4 separate regions of the Homo sapiens genome follow, and regions 2, 3 and 4 are each linked to region 1. The links are contacts of gene promoters, found by promoter capture Hi-C in blood cells and fetal thymus (Javierre and others, 2016). All regions are on one chromosome and are shown on one strand. The core of a region is centred on a gene start or on the middle of the fragment in contact, and the rest is flanking DNA. Distances in the headings are between cores, read along the strand shown. Region 1 holds the start of PDIA6 (protein disulfide isomerase family A member 6). Region 2 overlaps SLC66A3 (solute carrier family 66 member 3). Region 3 overlaps CIMIP5 (ciliary microtubule inner protein 5). Region 4 overlaps FLJ33534 (Putative uncharacterized protein FLJ33534).

Region 1 (3,031 bases), core at 301-2,800:
GAAAATCAATGCTGGCATGTGGCTTCCAGGAGAGGCCCCCGTGACTTCAGAGGGCTGCTGTGCCTCTGAGTTCAGTTTGCCTGAAAAATCTTCCAAACGCAGCTCTAGTGCCACTTCCTCCAGGAAGCCCACCAGCCGGCCCCCACCACTCCTGGACCCCTGCCTAAGAATACTTATGCCTTACACACTACAATATGGAGAAATTACTAATACAAAAACAAAATGTCCGAGTCCACTCCAAACATAGGAGGGAGAATCAAGGCGGAAAGATACAGTGGTCTTAACTTGTGCTTGAAAGATTTTACTTTTAGGTCGGGCGTGGTGGCTCACAACTGTAATCCTAGCATTTTGGGAGGCCGAAGCAGGCGGATCACCTGAGGTCGGGAGTTCGAGACCAGCCTGGCCAATATGGAGAAACCCTGTCTCTGCTAAAAATACAAAAATTAGCCGGGCGTGGTGACATGCACCTGTCATCCCAGCTTCTCGGGAAGCTGAGGCAAGAGAAACCCTGTCTCTGCTAAAAATACAAAAATTAGCCGGGCGTGGTGACATGCACCTGTCATCCCAGCTTCTCGGGAAGCTGAGGCAAGAGAATCGCTTGAACCCGGGAGGCAGAGGTTGCAGTGAGCCAAGACCCCGCCTTTGCACTCCAGCCTGGGCAACAAGGGCAAAACTCCATCTCAAAAAAAAGCAAAAAAATTTTTACTTTTGCCGGGCGTGGTGGCCCATGCCTGTGATCCCAGCACTTTGGGAGGCCGAGGCAGGAGGCTCACTGCAGCCCAGGAGTTCAAGGCTGCAGTGAACTGTATCATGCCACTGCTCGCCAGCCTGCCCCACAAACATATTTTTTTTCACTTTTGCATATTTTACAAAGCACACACCCACGTGAGCGCATTGCCAGCCCCCTCGCCCCCCAGGACAAAGTGGAGACCCTGTCAGCGAGGAGGCTACCGCTTAAGTCCCTGGGGTTCTCCAGAGAAGGAGGAGAAGGCTCTGCAGAGCCATGCGCCCTGGACGGAAGAACTTTCAAAAGTAATTCAACAAAATAGAAACTTGTCGAATTACATTGCAGACAGCGCGTGCGGAGCAAATGTGTGTCCACGGAATATTCGTCGGGCACAAGAGGAATTCCCTGTCAGCTCCCAGGACCGTGGGTGCCCTGAGGCCGAGTCACGCTCCCCCGGGATAAAGAGGGTGGGGGCGCACACAGGCAAGGAGGAGGCGGGGTGGGGGGGTGCAGAATAAGGAACTAAGGTAAAAACGCCCAGTACTGGACTCCCCTCCGAGCAGCACCCCGAGAGGGCCCGGAGGAGCTGAGGCGGTGCGAGCCGAGACTGCCAGCCCCGCCCCCAGCAGGCCCCGCCTTCCGCTGCTCGCCACCGCCCCCGTGAAAAAAAACCAAACCGGTAACCTCTACCCGGCCGCCTCCCATTGGATATGTGAGTGAGCGATGTCCGCCCGGACCAATGAGCCGCAGCCACGGCTTGGCGAGCGCCTTCCGGCCCGCCCCCGCGCGGCCGCCCCTCGGACCACCGGACTGGCCTGGGGCGGGACGTGGGCGCGGGGGCGCGGCGTGCGGCACGCTGCAGGGCTGAAGCGGCGGCGGCGGTGGGGACTGCACGTAGCCCGGCGCTCGGCATGGCTCTCCTGGTGCTCGGTAGGTGCGGGCCAGCGGAGGGAGGCGGGCGAGCTGGGGTCGGCCTGAAAGGTTTCGAATCTCTAGGCCGTTCCCCGGCGGGCCGCGGCCGCAGGCGGCCGGAAGTGGGCCTGGCGGGCGGGAGGCGCGGGCCTCGGCGTCCGGAGGAGCTGCTAGGTTGCCCCGGCGGAGGTGCGGGTGCGCGGGAGACTCGGGCGCCCGTGGGGAGGGGCTTCCGCAGCCGCGGGGGGCGGGAGCCTCGTGCGCTGGAGCCGGGCGCGGGGTCCAGGGCCGGGCGGGAGAGCCGCGGAGCCCAGCCCCGGCCGGATCCCGGGGAGGGGGTCTGTATTCCCGGAGAGTCGCAGGGGAGCTTGTTCCGGGCTCTTCTCGAACTCGTGCGTGGGGACGGAGGTTGGCGGGCGTCCTGCACTGCTGCTTGTTTCTGCCACCTGCTTTATGCAGCTCCTACTTTTAAAAACTGAAATGTTAAGCCGGGCGCGGTGGCTCACACCTGTAATCCCAGCACTTTGGAAGGCCGAAGCGGGTGGATCATCTGAGGTCAGGAGTTCGAGACCAGCCTGACCAACATGGCGAAACCCCGTCTCTACTAAAAATACAAAATTAGTCGGGCGTGGTGTCGCGCGCCAGTGATCCCAGCTACTCAGAAGGCTGAGGCAGGAGAATCTCCTGAACCCCCAGGAGGCGGAGGTTGCAGTGAGCCGAGATCGCGCCACTCCAGCCTGGGCAACAAGAGTGAAACTCTGTCTCAGAAACGAAAAACTGAAATGTTAAATCTCAGTCCTGAAATAAGGACCCATAGTTCCCTTAGAAAGGGACAGTGCCTTCCAAAAGCTGGGCTTAAGACGCAGGGGCGCTTCGCATGTGATCGGACTCCTTAAAAACGAAATGGAACGCGGCGTCTTAGGAATTCTGTAAATGTCTGCTTCTTAGTGGGCGAGGCCGAGGGTCCTGTCCTTGCCGGGCTCGCCTTGGTCACAGCCTTGGCTCTGACAGTCCTTAACCTCGGCTCTGGCCTCAGACCACCTTCCCCCTATTTACTGGCTCTGTGACTTGGAGCAAGTTACTTAACCACTCTGTGCCAGTGCCTTTTCAACGGTGTTCACCATTTTAGGGACTGATAATAGTACTCCCTTAGGGTTGTCCTGAGGATTAATGAGTTAGTACATGTCTTTCTGTTTTTTGAGACACGGTCTTGCTCTGTCTCCTAGGCTGGAGTGCAGGGTTTCCATCATAGTTCACTGCAGCCTGGAACTCCTGGTCTCAAGGGATCCAGGCACATGCCACCACACCTGGCTAATTTTTAAATTTTTTGTAGAGTCAGGGTCTCATTGTATTGCTCAGGTTGGTCTCAAACTCCTGGCCTCGAGTGATCCT
Region 2 (3,031 bases), core at 220-2,719, 370 kb before region 1:
GGGTGTTTTAAGACGCACGCAAATAATAGAACAAACTCATTTGAATTGGTAAGGATAGGGAAAAGAGGCAGGATGTCTGTTTTGTCAGGAAATAGTGTGCTGATTGATTGATAGGTGATTTTCTAGAAAGTGTTTCTCTGGCAATCAGTGGAACCTTTTCTAGGGCACTTATTTGCTATGTGCTCTTGGGCAGGTTATTCACTCTGAGCCTCCGTGTTTTCATCTGTAAAATGGAGATATAGATTGTGTCTACTTTACAGGATCACTGGCAGATTAAGTAAGTATGATGTGTGTAGAATGTCTGAGATGGCTCGAGTGTTTGTTGCCTTACAAAGGGGGAAAAACAGAGACCCTGTCACCTAAGTATGCTCTTAAAGGAGTTGCTTTAAGCAGTGATAAAGTACTAATGTTATCTAAATATAACATTTGTTGGACTAAAAATCATATAATTTGTATTGATGCTAATGGTCAGATTATAACTGCAAATGAAAAAAGATTAACTTGCATGTTTAAAAATATGACATCTGTAATTTTAACAACTACAGAATGAATAATTTTGTCTTTAGATACCATGTTTCTCTTCCTGTTGGTCCCAAGCAGTAGTTCTAAAAGGATTAACCAGTTTGTTTAAAAACTATACCTTACATAAAATAGTCATATTAATGATTGACAGTTTTAAGACTCAGCAGAATTCAAAATATGAAAATTTATTTTGCATAGGAAACAATAATCTCTGGTAAACATCATTACTGCATCTAACAAAACAATGCCTTCAATTAAAGGGGGAAAGTGAGTTTTTAAACATTAGGGTTAATTTAGAAGAAAATACAGTATATAATAATCTCAACATCATGTTTAGGGTAAAAATGCTATAATGTGAAAAAAGTCCCTAAGAACTGGACAGAACCTACCTAACAACACCATTTACCGTGTATGTTTTCAATAGACAAAACATATTTTGTACCAAATTCCAACAGTGGTAATTCTATAGTTGTGGCCCTTTAAAAAATGGCAGCATTGTACTTGAATCAGAAAGCTTACTGGGATTTCCTCATCGAAAGTAGAGATTGCAGCTAATCCTAGTACCTTTTGTTAGTAATTACTTAAGGCACAGTGCAAAGTTGAAGGACTGTTTTGGTACAAACTCAAGCCAGCTACATGTATGCTTGCCTTGGTATCCTTGCTAGAGCACATGCGGGTATAATACCGTATTATACACAACAAGGCCACCCTGTTGTATCTGTGTTACAATTAAACATCAGTCCCAGAAAGTGAACCCTAGTCATTTATTATAGGTGCCCACCTCTGACTTGGAACAAAATGCCACTCCATTCATGTTCATTTTTGTCCTGGAGAGGATTTATTTCCTAAAAGATTCTGAAAGCCAACAAATCAATGTAGTTCTTCATAGAGAACTTAAGAGTAAGGCTCAAAATGGCCTCAAAATGGGCTTCTTGGATGACTTCCAACAGTGACTGGCCTCAACACTGCAGATGTCTGAGCACTACCATAACCTAACGAAGTGAGGAAGGAGGAGGCAAATTGGTATTTTTAAACAAGAATTTAAGTGGCTCTTTCTTTCAAGTCTAAAAAAACCTTTGGCTTTAAAGATTATAAACTGATTTACTAAATTTATAAAAGACCTTAATTTAGCAAAGAGCTTCTTTTTCCTTTGGTTCAGTTACTCAAAATCCACTGTGTGAAGGAATAATGTATCCATCATTCAGCCTTTATAGCGGTCTTCCGGTAGCGAAGTACTGTCACTGTTACCCATATATTTAAAGCCAGCATGATCACAAAACGTAGAAGAACTGAAATAAAAAAAAAAGTGTATTAAAAACTGTCTTTACAATACAGACCAAAACCACCTCCTGCTCAAAGTATAAGCCTAAATAAAGCTTCACCCCCAACCTCCGAAATGAACAATTTTGGTTCCAGTTATTTCTGGGGAAATGATCTCCCTATCATGACAATTTTTGGCCCCTTGGCCCAACTTCATAAATAATAATTTATCATCTTAAGTGCTCAATTGACAGTAATGTGGCTCTGGCTAAGAAGGGTTATAACTTTTAACTTTTTTTTTTTTTTTTTGAGACAGTCTTGCCCTGTCACCCAGGCTGGGGTTCAGTGGCCTGTCTTGGCTCACTGCAACCTCCACCTTCTGGGTTCAAGTGATTCTCCCGCCTCAGCTCCCCAGGCACCTGGGATGACAGGTGCCCACCACCACGCCTGGCTATTTTTTGTATTTTTAGTAGAGACAGGGTTTCACCATGTTGCCCAGGCTGGTCTCAAACTCCTGACCTCAAGTAATCTGCCCACCTTGGCCTCCCAAAGTGCTGGGATTACAGGCGTGAGCCACTGTGCCCAGCCTAAGAAGGGTTATAACTTTTAAAAATCCCTTTACTCATCTGACGTCCTGAGGGTGCTGCTGTCTCAGAACGTTCCATATTAAGCAAGGGTGGTTTAACATACTCTGTTAAGATCATCCTGAAAAACTGGCCCACAGGACAAGGCATATTTTATATTCAAGTAACCATGAAAATGTGTCTCTTTGTGGAAAAATAAATAAATAAATATATATAACTTTAACAGTGACTTAACTTCTACTTTAAGGTACGGATACACTCCTGATAAATAGGTTTAATGAGATTTAAGATATCTTTGTGTTTGAAAAACACATGTAAGATTTTAGCTGAACTGTTTTTAAAAAGTTATTCCCTGGCCGGGCGCGGTGGCTCACGCCTGTAATCCCAGCACTTTGGGAGGCCGAGGCGGGCGGATCACGAGGTCAGGAGATCGAGACCATCCCGGCTAAAACGGTGAAACCCCGTCTCTACTAAAAATACAAAAAATTAGCCGGGCGTAGTGGCGGGCGCCTGTAGTCCCAGCTACTTGGGAGGCTGAGGCAGGAGAATGGCGTGAACCCGGGAGGCGGAGCTTGCAGTGAGCCGAGATCCCGCCACTGCACTCCAGCCTGGGCGACAGAGCGAGACTCCGTCTCAAAAAAAAAAAAAAAAAAAAAGTTATTCCC
Region 3 (3,031 bases), core at 285-2,784, 330 kb before region 1:
ATAGGAGTCCATCAGGCTGACCAGGTGGAAGGACATTCCAGCAGGGGACGAGCATGCCCAAAGGCATAGATAAAAGAGTGTTGTGGGGGCTGGGTGTGGTGGCTCATGCCTGTAATCCCAGCACTTTGGGAAGCCGAGGCAGTTGGCTAATTGAGGTCAGGAGTTCGAGACCAGCCTGGCTAACATAGTGAAACCCCCTCTCTACTAAAAATACAAATATTAGCCAGGCATGGTGGTGTGCACCTATAATCTCAGCTACTCAGGAGGCTGAGGCAGGAGAATCACTAGAATCCAGGAGGTGGAGATTGCAGTGAGCCAAGATTGCACCACTGCACTCCAGCCTGGGCGACAGAGCAAGACTCCATCTCAAAAAAAAAAAAAAAAAAAAAAAAAGTGTGTTGTGGGGTCTGTGTGGGGTGGGTAATGAGGCTGGGGAGATAGATGGTTTAGATCACAGGAGGCTTTGTAAGCCACCTGAAAATTTCAGACTTACTGAAGCATTTTAATCAGGGGAGCTACATGGCCAGTTCTGCCGTTTAGGGAAATTAGTCTGGTGGCAATGTGGAGGATGGATTGGAGGTGGTGATACCAGAGTCAGGGAATTTGTTTACAAAGTATTTTTACCCAATCTCATTGTCCTTCTCGGGCACGCCACACAGATATGACTACATATTGCTGCCATCCTCAATCAGGGGAGACATTTCAGCAACAGATGCCTGTCATTTCCAATTGGTTCATCTTAATAAAATTAAGAAACACTGAGGGAAACACATTTCTAAATGCTTCATGTAACTGTTTTCTATCCAACGGACCCTGCATTCCTTGAAACAAGAGTGTATTTGACTCATCGCTGCACATCCAGTATCTGGTGTAGAGTAGATCTTCAATAAATGTTAGTTGAATGATGGAAAGAATGAGTAATATTCAATTGCAAGTATGTTTGGCAGGAACATATTTTACCTTACCATTGGGTCATAGTCTTTCAGGAAACTCCAGTTCTGAATCCTGGAAAGGAAAAACATGTTGGCTGTGTGAGTTCCTTCCAGGACATTTTTACCAATGACTTTCACTGTGTCAAGTCAATGCAACAATGTATCACGTGGAAGAACTAAATAATTTTTTTTTTTTTTTTTTTTTTTTAAGACGGAGGCTCACTCTGTCACCCAGGCTGGAGTGCCGTGGCGCAATCTTGGCTCCCTGCAAGCTCCGCCTCCCGGGTTCACGCCATTCTCCTGCCTCAGCCTCCCGAGTAGCTGGGACTACAGGCACCCGCCACCGCGCCTGGCTAATTTTTTGTATTTTTAGTAGAGATGGGGTTTCACCGTGGTCTCGATCTCCTGACCTTGTGATCCGCCCGCCTCGGCCTCCCAAAGTGCTGGGATTACAGGCGTGAGCCACCACGCCCAGCCTTTTTTTTTTTTTTTTTTTGAGAGGGAGTCTCGCTCTGTCACCTAGGCTGAAGTGCAGTGGCATAATCTCAGCTCACTGCAACCTCTGCCTCCCAGGTTCAAGCAATTCCCCTGTCTCAGCCTCCCAAGTAGCTGGGACTACAGGTGCATGCCACCACACCCGGCTAATTTTTGTATTATTAGTGTAGATGGGGTTTCACCATATTGGTCAGGCTGGTCTTGAATTCCTGACCTCAGGTGGTCCACCCACCTTGGCCTCCCAAAGTGCTGGGATTACAGGCATGAGCCACTGTGCCCAGCCAGAACAAAATAATTTTTAAGTGAAACAAATGCCAAGTGTCAAGCAGGTATTTATGGTGTATCCTACCAAAGGAACAAACATTTCAATTTCCAATGACTTTTCCTAGAACGACAAATATGATGTCACTATGGTGGGGCTGCCTAAGGAAAGCAAAGGCTACCATCTCGCCCTGCCTCTGTGCATTTCAGAAGGCTACAGTAGGCAAGCATTCTCTGAAGAAAAAAGTTTTCACATCCCCAAACCTTTGTAACTTTCCAATGTGAGTGATAGAGGAAGGCTAGGGAGAGGTAGGAAAAGGGAGGGACCATAAGGATAGTATTAGCTTGCACTGGCCATTTAGTTTTATTTGAATCTAATCTTAAAAAGTCAAACAATTCTACAAAACATAATAAAAACAGCCTTCTCTGTCCCCATCCTCACAGCCCCTGAGCCCCACATCCTAGAGTCAAACCTTTGCCAGCCTTTTAGCTGTTTCTTCAGGCCTTTGCATCCATATTTTGAAATAATAGGATTCTACTGCTGTATTATGCCATTCTTGCCTTGCTATAAATAATACCTGAGACTGGGTAATTTATAAAGAAGGTGTAGGACAGGTGCGGTGGCTCACGCCTGTAATCCCAGCACTTTGGGAAGCTAAGGTGGGTGGATCACCTGAGGTCAGGAGTTCGAGACCAGCCTGGCCAACATGGTGAAACCCTGTCTCCACCAAAAATACAAAAATTAGCCGGGCATGGTGGCGGGCGCCTGTAATACCAGCTACTAGGGAGGCTGAGGCAGGAGAATCGCTTGAGCCCAGGAGGTGGAGGTTACAGTGAGCAGAGATCAAGCCACTGCACTCCAGCCTGGGTGACAGAGTGAGACTCTGTCTCAAAAAATAAAAATAAATAAAAATAAAAATAAAAAAAAGAAGGTGTAATTGGCTAACAGTTCCACAGGCTGTACAGGAAGCAGGATGCTGGCATCTGCTTAGCTTCTGGGGTGGTCTCAGGAAACTTACAATCATGGTGGAAGGCAAAGTGGCAGCAGGCAGGTCACATGGCCAGAGCAGGAGCAAAGGAGAGAGAAGGGAAGTGCCACACACTTTAAAAGAACCAGATCTGGTGAGAACTCACTACTGTGAGGACAGTACCATGGGGATGGTATAAACCATTTATGAGAAGCCACCCGCATGATCCAATCGCCTTCCACCGGGCCCCACCTCCAAAACTGGGGATTACTATTCAACATGCGATTTGGGTGGGGACACAGATCCACACCATATCCACTGCTGTTTCTTAATATTTTTTAAAATTTAAACTTATCTATCGACTTTCTATTATGG
Region 4 (3,031 bases), core at 164-2,663, 310 kb before region 1:
TGGACCCCCAGGACCAGAATCCCTTCTGACTATAGTTTCTGGCCTCTTCTTCAGTTGTTATTTGCAGAGAAAAAGCATCTCACATAAACAGTTTTACTTCGGTTATCAAAAAGATACTCAATGATCTATATTTCAAAGACTCTAGATTCCTGGGAGTTGGGGGAATTTTAAGCATTGGGAACATATTCTGGAGCATGTCTTTATGTTCTTTATTCTGTAGCTTCCCATGGGTGGCCAGCCGAATGCATTATGGGAGAAAGCAGGTCTCGTGGATAATATTTCTGAAGATCGGAGCAGGTTGCCAGGTCCACGTCGGCCATGACTGCAGCACGCTCCGGAGGCAGCAGGGGGCACCCTGGAGCTTCGCATCCTCCTTCAGGCCCGCGGCATCTCCCCTGGCTCCACCATCCCCAGGTGTCTCAGGTTGGACGCACGGTAGTTCGCTATGGCCATTTCTGATTAAAGACAGAACAAATGGATTGTCCGGATACGGTGTCTGTGAAAGGAACCCAGCTGTGAGCCTCGGCAGGCAGGTGCGACATTCTAAATCCACAGGGAGGGCCCAGAAGGGACGCAAGAGGTCACCTGCCGTGCAGGGTGCGGGGGGTCTTGGAGGTGGGCAGCAGCTGTTCACCCGTGAGCGACGAGGAGCATCAGCGCTTGAACAGCGGAAGCAGCATTTACAGGTGAACACCAGCCCGAGAGGGCCGGGGGGCCCAAAGCTATGGTGTCCAGAGCCTCCCAGCTCCCACTCTGGCCTCCAGTGGCCATGGAATTGCTAACTATGAGGGCGCAAGCTTCTCCCAGCAAGTCAAGGGGATGCTATGTGCTGCGATAACGGGTCCGGCCGCCTTGCCTTTGGCCTTCCAAGCCCCTCTCTGAGCCCCAGGACGTACCCACACCTGCCGGCCCATGTAGGGTGGTCCCAGCCTGCGTCAGTCAGGCCACACTCCGGAGCCAGGCTTGGTGCAAACTCCCAGCTGAGCTCACCCGCTGGCTGCGGTCTGTGATACTTCCCTGGTGGTCTCTGACGGGGCTGTATGGCCTCCCTCTGGAACCCAGGCTGAACACTCGAGGAGCTGGAGGCAGTCGGGCAGAATCAGCCTCTGGTTGCCAGCATGGGGTGTCAGGCAGGGGCAATCCAGCGGGGAGCCTGGGGAGAGAGGGCGGGGGTGAGGCACTGATCTCAGGCTGTGGGGAGGAATTCACACCTGCATGGCTGAGGCTGGTGCTGCCCCCCTGATCACCAGGAGATCAGCCTCTCCTTCCCCAGCCTCAATTTGCACCCCTGGCCTGTGCGGTTGGCACTGTCTCCCGTGGGGAGCCCCTGCCTGGCTCAGGGGAGACCCTGGTGCAGAGCCCACCTTTGGAGCTGCCCTGTCCTGCTGAGGCAGGAGCCACCCCTGGCCTGGCCCTGGCCCTGGCCCTGGCCCTCCGGTGAGGCTGCAGTAGCCAGGAGAAGGCCAGTCAGAAAGGCCATCTGCCTGGCGGGTGTTTCTAGCCAGCAGGCCAGGGTAAGGAAGTTGTCAGGCGTCCTGCGGGGATGGCCAGGGTTGCAGACAGGGGTGGCAGCCAGCTCCATGTAGCTCTGGGACCCAGGTGTGTGGCAGGGCCAGGAGCATGTTCTGCTGCTCTTCCAGGCCCGACTCCAGCTCATTTCCTTGAGAGACCCTTTCACCTATTCCAACCTGCATTTGCCTGTGTCGTCCTTTGCAGCAGCAGCCTTGTGGCTGTGCCTCTTCTGTGCCCTCCGAGTTCTAGGCTGAGGGTGAGGATTGGATGAGTTGATCCACGCAAGGCTCCTGGCACAGTGCCTGGCATATGGTTAAATAGACTTGAAGTTATAATTACCAGGTATGTGACCCTGTCCTCAATATGAGTGCCACAGTGGGCTGGAGAGTGGCAGCCCTGCTGGGCAGGATCGTAGGGTCTCAGTGACAGGCCTTCCTCGTATCCCTGACAGGGAGAGAGGCTCACTGAATAGTAAGTTGGCTGTGTCTTTTCTGTCTGAGCCTCTCTGGGAAGCTTCCAAGGGGATAAAGGCTTGAGCTGGAACTTGGAGGAGTTTGCAGGTGGCTGGATTGGGGTGGGGGTGGGGAGGAGGGTGCCAGCATGCCAGGTGGGGGAACAGCATGGGCGAAGGTATGGAGATGGGGGAGGGATCTGGACAGGGTGCCTGTGGCTGGAGCACAGGGCATGTGTGGGCGGGAAGCAGGTGAAGAGAGGAAGAGCTCTGGGGGACTTCTGGAGGGGACCCACCGTAGGAGCAGGCCAATGGCTGGCAGGGCTAAGTGGTGCAGGTGCCCCTGATGGATTTGATCGAGGTGGGCACACATGCTCATGTCAGAGGCATGTAAACCAGAGCAACTCCATCTTGCGTAGGAGCTGGGTAAAATGAGGCTGAGACCTACCGGGCTGCATTCCTGGACAGTTAAGGCATTCTAAGTCATGGGACAAGACGACACAGGTCATAACGACCTTGCTGATGAAACAGGTTGCAGTAAAGAAGCTGGTCAAAACCCACAAAAACCAAGACAGCCATGAGAGTGACCTCCGGTCGTCCTCGCTGCTACACTCCCACCAGGGCCATGACAGTTTACAAATGCCACAGCAATGTCAGGAAGTTAGCCTATATGGTCTAAAAAGGGCAGGCATGAATAATCCACCCCTTGTTTAGCAGATCATCAAGAAATAACCATAAAAATGTGCAGCCAGCAGCCCTCGGGGCTGCTCTGCCTATGGAGTAGCCATTCTTTATTCCTTTACTTTCTTAATAAACTTGCTTTCACTTTACAGACTCACCCTGAATTCTTTCTGGGGTGAGATCCAAGAACCCTCTCTTGGGTTGTGGATCGGGACCCCTTTCCTGTAACATATATAGCTCTGTACACCTTGAGGGTCTTAGAGGGAGGGTGGAGAGAGCCCAGGGCTGAGGGCGCCCCTTCTGTCAGGGGTGAGGCTGATGCCTGGAGCCTCAGTCTCTGCCCCACCCACCAAGGCGGAAGGCTGTCCCCTAAAGAGGAGCGATAAC

The links. The method cuts DNA at HindIII sites, captures the fragments that hold promoters and counts their contacts. A CHiCAGO score of 5 or more calls a contact.
Region 2: a contact is called between a fragment that was not itself captured here and the fragment with the promoter of PDIA6 in region 1, in 3 of 17 cell types (naive CD4 T cells, endothelial precursors and fetal thymus). The highest score is 6.9, in naive CD4 T cells.
Region 3: a contact is called between a fragment that was not itself captured here and the fragment with the promoter of PDIA6 in region 1, in 10 of 17 cell types (M2 macrophages, non-activated CD4 T cells, naive CD4 T cells and 7 more). The highest score is 9.8, in M2 macrophages.
Region 4: a fragment that was not itself captured here is called in contact with the fragment with the promoter of PDIA6 in region 1 in 12 of 17 cell types (fetal thymus, M2 macrophages, megakaryocytes and 9 more); the score reaches 12.7 in fetal thymus.

What each region holds. Positions count from the first base shown.
Region 1 is chr2:10,811,304-10,814,334 of GRCh38, reverse strand. It overlaps PDIA6 (protein disulfide isomerase family A member 6), which reads left to right and starts at 1,550. Exons shown (of 13, transcript NM_005742.4): 1 at 1,550-1,657. The coding sequence starts at 1,639. RefSeq lists a silencer at 1,248-1,997 and an enhancer at 2,488-2,547. The HindIII fragment of the contact is 7,767 bases long and covers 1-3,031 here.
Region 2 is chr2:11,176,517-11,179,547 of GRCh38, reverse strand. SLC66A3 (solute carrier family 66 member 3) reads right to left here. Exons shown (of 7, transcript NM_152391.5): 7 at 692-1,811. The coding sequence ends at 1,720. Among named protein-coding and RNA genes, the nearest start is that of SLC66A3, 23 kb to the right of the region's middle. The HindIII fragment of the contact is 862 bases long and covers 1,039-1,900 here.
Region 3 is chr2:11,138,484-11,141,514 of GRCh38, reverse strand. CIMIP5 (ciliary microtubule inner protein 5) reads right to left here. Exons shown (of 3, transcript NM_001371321.1): 2 at 966-1,005. Among named protein-coding and RNA genes, the nearest start is that of CIMIP5, 6.9 kb to the right of the region's middle. The HindIII fragment of the contact is 7,524 bases long and covers 1-3,031 here.
Region 4 is chr2:11,121,975-11,125,005 of GRCh38, reverse strand. It overlaps FLJ33534 (Putative uncharacterized protein FLJ33534), which reads left to right. Exons shown (of 9, transcript NR_040080.1): 4 at 221-423; 5 at 1,717-1,854. Among named protein-coding and RNA genes, the nearest start is that of FLJ33534, 8.7 kb to the left of the region's middle. The HindIII fragment of the contact is 1,228 bases long and covers 800-2,027 here.